Regions from separate parts of the Homo sapiens genome. Here region 1 is linked to region 2. The links are contacts of gene promoters, found by promoter capture Hi-C in blood cells and fetal thymus (Javierre and others, 2016). All regions are on one chromosome and are shown on one strand. Each heading gives the region's core, a stretch centred on a gene start or on the middle of the fragment in contact. The rest is flanking DNA. Distances are from core to core; before and after follow the strand shown. Region 1 overlaps LAMA2 (laminin subunit alpha 2). Region 2 holds the start of ARHGAP18 (Rho GTPase activating protein 18).

Region 1 (4,225 bases), core at 1,051-3,550, 210 kb before region 2:
AGATCATTTTATTTCTGAGCAAAGCACAGGGCAGTTTCTATTCCATCTCACTTGTTCCCCCTTTAAAATGCTAGAAGGAAAAAAGAAGCTTGAGCAGCTGGATGAGCAGCTCCACCCACTGTGGGACATGAGGCAGAAGGAAGAGAAGAGGAAGCAACACCGGGCAAAGCAATAAACTGGTGCTGCCCTGAACACATCATGTTTTTTTTCTTTTTGAGACAGGTTCTTGCTCTACTGTCCAGGTTGGAGTGCAGTGATGCAATCATAGCTCACTCTAACCTTGAACTCCTAGGCTCAAGTGATTCTCCTGCCTTGGCCTCCCGAGTAGCTGGGGCTTTCAGCATGCAACAACATGCCCAGCTAATTTTTTATTTTTTTAATTTTTTTGTTGTTGTTGTTCTTTTGGAGAGACAGAGGGGGGCAGGGGTCCTCACTTTGTTGCCCAGGCTGGTCTCAAACTACTAGCCTCAAGCGATCTTCCTGCCTCGGCTTTCCAAATGCTGGGATTAAAAACATGAGCCACCACGCCCATCCCTTACACCCATCAGACTTGGTTTCAGTTTACCCAAGGAAAAGTGATGCAAGGAAGACACCCTTTAACCAAGCAAGGGGGAGGTCGAGATTTGTACAAAACACTACCAAATTAGAGGGTGGGGAATTTTTGTCCCATTTAAATCCTAAGGTACATATTTTTAAAAACCCTCTTACACCAGCACTTCTCAGTCCTTTTCCAACTGCCAGTTTAATAAAGGAAGGTGATAGAAGTTTTATTAAAACAGTATCCATCCTGTTGCAAATCAATGATTGATAGTAAACATCACCTTGGATGTCCTTAAAAACAAAGGACTATACACCATAATGGCTTTAAACTTTGAGGTTACATGTTAGAGTGATCAGTTTGGTACAACTCTTTTCCATAACATTGGCTCATCTGAGAATACCGTTTTATTAAGCACTGCTTCTGCCTGCTTCTTGAGGGCTGCCCGTTGCAGAAACGGAGGATCTAATCCAGGAGGTGTTCTTCTTCCTAAATTTCAAGTGGATGTAACCTGTAATGATTCTTAAAAGAACTTTGACAAAGTCCCTGTCCTTTTCTGGTCAAAGGTTTTTTTCTAAAATGGCTTGACCAGTGCCTTGTCCATCTAGAAAATCTCATAGTATACAACGAAACAACAACAAAATAAAAACAAACCAAAAAACTGCTGCTTAGCTCAGGACCAGTTTTGGATACACCTGTCCAGTCTACCAGCAATCCAAAAGTTCCCCATAACATACAGCTGCTACCGGGAGTGTACAACTGCCACCTTGAAAATTTTTTAAATTTTAATAGAGAAGTTATATTGACATTTACATATAGTAATTAGACGAGTGACTGTAACCGCAATAATATGGACATAACCCACTGGTGGTTCTCTTTTAAGCTACATGTAATTGTTTCCTAATTCCTCAGCATCCATCCACCTTTCTTAATCCCTCAATTTTCAGAGCTGAGGGTGTAAAGATGTTTCAGTGAAATTCTGCCCCCAGTGGACTCACAGCAGATAGGATTATCTTAGTGATTTCTGAGGAAGACTGCAAGCTGCGTGTGTTTATCGAGACGGTCCTCTGTCCGGGAAATATCGTGAGAGGCTGATAAAAGATCCCAATTCTATTAATAGAAGTATTCATGACTGAGATCTTAAGCTACAGAGGCCTTTCCATTCGGGCTCTTTTTGCAGGCAGCGTAATAAGAAAGGTGCCACATGCTGCCTCTAAAAGAGGCCATTCAGCTGTGCGAATGAATAGCATTTTCCTGTCCTACCCACGGGGTTTTGCATAGCTGTGTGAATTTCGGCCACAGTCTGCTCTTTATAACTGACCATCTCCTGGGAAGCAAGAAGGGAAATACTTCCATGAAGACCAATTTTACGGCATTTCAAAACACTTTAAGCCTTTTACCTGCTGTGGCAGAGTGCTTCGTTTGACTAAGATCAAGAGAAAAGAGAACAAGGCTTTTCCTCATCAAGTAAAAATTTCCTGTGTGCTGATGAGTCATCTCTGAGGTACACTCTTTGGGAAGAACACTGTGCATCAAAAGCCTGCCTTGGGCTGCTTGAGAACCTCTGCTGAGTCAGCACTCACTGGGGCAGCGGCCCAGCCAGAGCTATTAAGTGCAGATCTTAAAAACAGATGTGTTGGTGAGAGTGTGCAGGTTATTTTCTCATGTACTGCATGTTCTAAGAGATGTCATAAGCAGCCTGTATATCGACCTATCTTGTGAAAATAGAGAACAGGGAAAGGAATTGTGGCTTTGGTAATTTAAGGAGCCTTGATTATTTATGGAGCTGTGTGTTATGGTAGCCAAATGTGATCTACTCAGCCAGGACTGCTGTATGCTTTGCAAGGCCCAGTGCAAAATGGAAAATGCAGGGCCCCTCACTGAAAAATTATTAAGAATTTCAAGATGGTGACAGCAGAGCATTAAACCATGTGACTGCACAGCCCCGCACCTAGCTCTCCCCCTCAGCACCCTAGGAAGCTGATCTTTGAACAGTGGCAGTTGAAATGGTGTATGGTGGGTTACATTTTTAAAATGTGCTGGGTTGCCTAGCAACTGGCAAGGGCCTGAATGGGCTGACGTGCAGGTTTAGATACACCATCTTGAAAGTCTACATTCATGGAAACCTTCTAGTGGACTGATAATTTTCAAGAAAAAGTAATATAGTGGGAGATGGAAATGGGGAGGGCAAGAAAAAACACATTTTGCTACTCTTATAACCCAAGTGGCTAGCTTGTCATTTTCCCTGTTCGATCTTCTAAGAATAGAGCTCTTCATATGTGAAGGAAAAATGAAAGGGAAATTCCAGTTTTCTCAGAAATATACATAAATTTTTAGAGGATAATGAAACTATGAGTTAATCAATAAATATGTCTGAGCACATTCCTTTAGCCATTCCAGGGTGTGATATGAGAAAACTGATTCACACGCACTGAGCACTCAATAATAAGTACTTACTATGCAGTAGACTACAGAGATGAATAATGTAGTTTTTATTCTTAAAGAATTACGCTAATATGTAAGAAACAATTAGACAGCATCATTACCTTTTTAAAGAACAGTCCATAATCTCCTGTTTTTCTCTCCTGGGTATTTTACAGGGTCCTTGTGCTGCAGAATCAGAACCAGCTCTTTTGATAGGGAGCAAGCAGTTCGGGCTTTCAAGAAACAGTCACATTGCAATTGCATTTGATGACACCAAAGTTAAAAACCGGTATGTATCATCCTGAGACACTGGGAAAGAACCGATAAATGAAGAACTGAGTATTTGTGTTTAATCAAGTTGAATCTACTACACTTATTAATTAATGAAGTTAGCTTTTCTTTTATTCACTGAGTACAATAGAGAATAGAATTTTATTTGTCTGAGCCTGAGGAGCCCAATTTAGGAAATCAGTAGCCTGATAAAGTCCTCATCTCTGAGAAGGTTTTACTCTCCTTTATGAAAATGCAGCCACGATCTGATACCGCTCTATTTTAGCATGAGAATGCTGTTATTTTTCTGTTTGACTTTGCATGCTTTTGTTTCACAGTCTCACAATTGAGTTGGAAGTAAGAACCGAAGCTGAATCCGGCTTGCTTTTTTACATGGCTCGCATCAATCATGCTGATTTTGCAACAGTTCAGCTGAGAAATGGATTGCCCTACTTCAGCTATGACTTGGGGAGTGGGGACACCCACACCATGATCCCCACCAAAATCAATGATGGCCAGTGGCACAAGGTAATAGTCCCCTGGATATTGGCAGTACCCTAAGGGAATTACTGAGTGGCAGCCATCAGCATTCTCCTGGTGCCAGTATATTTTGCCAGGGCAGACACTGACTCTGGCAGAAGCTAAAAATAAAATAAGTGCCATATACAACTACCACAATCTTGGAAAATGTGCTCAGACCTGTGTAGGTTTGCATTTGACCACTGGCATGCCTCATCATGGTTCCATCACTGCTATATGGCTGTGGTTTTCAAACATCTACCCATAAACTGAGGCCAGGTGGCTGAAGACATTTCCACTGCTCTAAGTGAGAAACGTAGAACAGAGTGTGTTCACCATCAAGCTCGATGTATTCAATTTTAAGGAATAATATTTATTCTGAGATTATATTATAGCATTTTTATGGTGGCTAAAAGGCCTTTCTATTATGAAATAGTATTTGCCAAAAGCAAAAGTTGGCAACACTAAAATGGG
Region 2 (3,950 bases), core at 398-2,897:
AAAACTTAACTAATCCCTGGGGTTTGAGTCCTACGTGAAAATGAGAGGTTAGGACTCAGTCCTTAAGGTCCTTTCCATTCTCACAATCAAGATCCAAGATTCAGCTCAGGTCCTCAGGCCATTCAGCCTAAAGTCGGAGAATGTCCTGAGCTTGTATAATTTTGGCAATTTTGACTGACATGTGGAATCCAAGTTATGGCTGGGTATGGGGTTGGTGTTGCAGGCTGCTTTACTGCTTAATGATTACTAATACATTACAGAAAAATGGATGAAAACACTTCAAGATCTCTTGATTTAATGATTTAACATTAAGTCATTTAAAATGATGGAAAATGAAATGGTAACACAGCTAAGGCACAAGCACCAAATCTTTTTTATCTTTGGAAATGAATTCATTCAATGAAATACATACTGTGGATGCTATGTGAGAAACAGTTCCCGTCAGCTGGGAGTCTAACACTGAGTATTACAGCCATTCCTTTGATTTTTCTCCCTCCCTCATATTTGGAGATTTTAAAACAAATGAAAGGCAGCATTATTTCAGCTTAAGGCACAGGCATAAGTCACATAAGAACAAAGAAGGTTTTATTATCACATTAAGCATTGAGGAGGAAATGTGCTTACCGATAACTAATTTAGTGTTCTAGGCTATTAGGTTAGTATTTGCTTCTTGCAATCTTCTAGGCCAATATTTACTATTTATATCTTGATGGAGGTAAAAATGTTCAGCTAGTGAGAAGGTCATTAAGGAGAGAAAGAAAAAAAAAAGCCCTTGGAAAATGGAACAAAGTACACAGATAGGGAGAAAGGTACCCTTTGCGCCTCAGTGGTCTATAGAACATTTGCCCTCTCTGCCTATAAAGTGATTTAACATTAACCACATTTCACTCCAGCAGCAGAGTGCTATCTCCTGACAAAAACTCCTTTTTGAAAGCCTGGGGGAAAAAAAATCCACATACACAAAAGAATGTGAAACATATTGCCACAGGCCAGTGTCTTGGGCTTTTTGCCTAAGAGGTTTGCTTTCAGCAAAGAGAGGGGGGAAAAAAAACACTCTAACAACAACAGCTTGTACAGTACAGTGAACAGCCTCCCTGCTTTTTGGCAGACTTTCCCAGCGAACAGTTCCAGTGGCAGTGCCTTGAGCCCATTCAAGAATTCCATTTCATAGGAAAGGAAGTGTTTCAGATAGACCTATTTGATCTTTCAGCATGTGCAAATGCACCTGCTAAATAGCTAGTCTGACAGCCCATATAGCCCTCTCCCCAGTTCCTTCTTCTCTGTCTTCACCAGTAATCATATGGGTTATTTCAGACTTGGACTAGGTGAGATGAAAAGTACATAAAAATCACGCCAAACGTTGCTACTGCTGCTGCACGAGCTCAGGCTCGACGTGCAGATGGAATTCCCTTCTCCCCACGCCAACTTCCCTGTCACTTTCTTCCTGGAGCAGGTAAGAGGGTTTTGTTTTGTTTTCAGCTTCCGAAGGCTTACCTCGAGGTGGCTTCCTCCCCTGCCTTTGCATGGCTGTTCCCGACGGTCTGGTCCTTGCCGCTGGGGTGGTAGGCTGTTAGTACCACTCCCTGGGAACTGGAGAGCCAGCTCATGGTGAGAGAAGGGACATACTTTCTGCGATCCTGACACAGAGAAGGGGAAAGAAGTTCCTGTCTCGCCTGGCAACTCGCTCATTAGCATTGGCCAGCTCCTCCCCGCAGGCTGGCGATTCACACGGGGAGGGGCGGGGTCTGTCCAGGGAAGGGCTTCCTGCCTCTCCAATTAGAAGCTGCAACTCACAGCATGGTTTCAACTCTGGACAATTGCACTCTGGGCGGCTTTGGTTAAAGGAGGCGAAGGGTGGAAGCGACGGGTTGCACCCACCCCCAAGTTAGTCTGATCAGATTAAACTGCCAGAACGTATATTCAACTCATCACTGTAACTACAAGCCGTCTTACTTAGGAAACCATGAGTTGCTGCCAAGGCTTTTTTTTTTCCCTCCCCAATTCCTCTATCTTATAATTTCTGCTACTTAATGTAACATGAGTAAAGGCATTTCTTAACCCCTTCATGTTCAGCGTTAAAATTAGCCATAGTAAAAAACAACGAACCCGCGGCAAAACTCTGCAATCCAGACGACGAGAAAGGCTTGATCCTTGTGTCCGGTTAAAAATGCCCTCATAAAAATTGTGTGTCCTGGAATGTCGTCGTCTTTCACATAAAGCCAATCTCAAATATACGTCTTGTTTTAGCAAAATATTTTTCAGCACCAAAAAGGGATAGACCTACCAATGCTCTGTTAAGTGTTATTGCTGAGAACAAGAGAAGTCCCTGCCATTTGTTGAGCACCTACTATATGCCAAGCTCTCATGGACGGGGGTTTCACATGTATTATCTCATTCCATTCAATTCTCTCTCTCTCACACACACACACACACCGTACAAGATAGGTATCACTATCATCTGTGTTATACATAACACAAGGAAAGTAAGGCTGAGGGACGAGTTAAGTAACTTCACTAAGATAACACAGTTGCTAGTGCCAGAAGCTGGATTTGAACAGAATTCTAGGCTACATTCCTTTTATTTTTCACCAGTATGCTCTTCTTTGTTTTGCAGATTAAGAAACAAGATCAAAATTATCATAAACACAAAAGACAGCTCTGTTCTTTCTCCCCATCTCCCCTCCAAAAAAAAAAATCACTTTTTTGGTTTGTTTTTGAATCAGGGTCTCACTCTGTCACCCAGGCTGGAGTACAGTGGTGATTGTAACTCACTGCAGCCTCAACCTCCCAGGCTCAAGAAATCCTCCAGCCTCAGCCTCCCCAATAGCTAAGACCACAGGCATGCACTACCACGCCCAGCTAATTTTTTTATGCTTTGTGGAGAGGGAGGGTCTCACTGTGTTGCCCAGGCTGGTCTTGAACTCCTGGGCTCAAGCAATCCTCTTGGCTCAAGCTCCCAAAGTATTGAGATTACAGGCATGAGCCACCACGCCTGGCTTCTACTCTGACATACCCAGTAGTCTGAAGGTTTTTTTAGATTTTTATGATTCATTCAACTCTCTAGAATTCCTCTTGAACAAGTTTCCAATTCCATCATTACATAAACTTATTGCTTATACCTTATCATTATTTAAAACAGTCATGAAAAATAATTTCTTCCTCCTTACATACTCTAGAAGTATCTGAAATTTATTTTTGAACCCTCTTTCTTATAATTTACAAAAGTCTTCCTTAAAAGGAATTTATATCTTCCTCCCTCCCCCCTGCACAACTGCTCAACCTTCCCATTTCCACTTCCATAGGACTTTACTTGCTGTCTCCTTTTTATCCCCATGACCTCAACCACCTCTGGATCCTATAATGCAGTCTTAGCTCCAATATTACAACAGCCCTTTTAGCTCATCTCCCTGTCACCTCCTTTAAATTGCTTTGACATTATGATCACACCCTGGCACTCATGATCCCTCTCCTCGCTTAAAAACCTTCATTGGCTCTCTATTGCTAACAGAGCCAGTTCCAGGCTTTTGAGCAGATCACTGGGCATTCCTGCTACCTTATACATACAAGTCTTTCCATCTGCTAGACACAATCTTTTCAGGTCCTACTATGATTCTTTTCTCTTCATCTGACAGCTAACTTAAATTTTGTACCTACTGAGCCTTCAGTAAACACTGAATGGAGGAAAACCTGAATGAATTGAAAGTATCCTTTAAAACTCTACTAAATTTTTTTTTTTTTTTGAGACAGAGTTTCGCTCTTGTTGCCCAGGCTGGAGTGCAATGGCATGATCTCGGCTCACCACAATCTCCACCTCCCAGGTTCAAGCGATTCTCCTGCCTCAGTCTCCCGAGTAGCTGGGATTACAGGCATGTGTCACGACGCTGGCTAATTTTGTATTTTTAGTAGAGACTGGGTTTCTCCATGTTGGTCAGGCTGGTCTTGAACTCCCG

Evidence for each region. Contacts are between HindIII fragments. The CHiCAGO score rates a contact against its expected background, and 5 or more counts as called.
Region 1: a contact is called between a fragment that was not itself captured here and the fragment with the promoter of ARHGAP18 in region 2, in 1 of 17 cell types (erythroblasts). The highest score is 5.2, in erythroblasts.

The regions. Positions count from the first base shown.
Region 1 is chr6:129,499,521-129,503,745 of GRCh38, forward strand. LAMA2 (laminin subunit alpha 2) reads left to right here. Exons shown (of 65, transcript NM_000426.4): 59 at 3,139-3,251; 60 at 3,571-3,760. LOC102723409 (a long non-coding RNA gene) reads right to left here. Exons shown (of 8, transcript XR_001743860.2): 7 at 3,085-3,271. Among named protein-coding and RNA genes, the nearest start is that of ARHGAP18, 210 kb to the right of the region's middle. RefSeq lists an enhancer at 2,189-3,388. The HindIII fragment of the contact is 4,428 bases long and covers 87-4,225 here.
Region 2 is chr6:129,708,530-129,712,479 of GRCh38, forward strand. It overlaps ARHGAP18 (Rho GTPase activating protein 18), which reads right to left and starts at 1,648. Exons shown (of 15, transcript NM_033515.3): 1 at 1,495-1,648. The coding sequence starts at 1,607. RefSeq lists a silencer at 1,922-2,001. The HindIII fragment of the contact is 10,321 bases long and covers 1-3,950 here.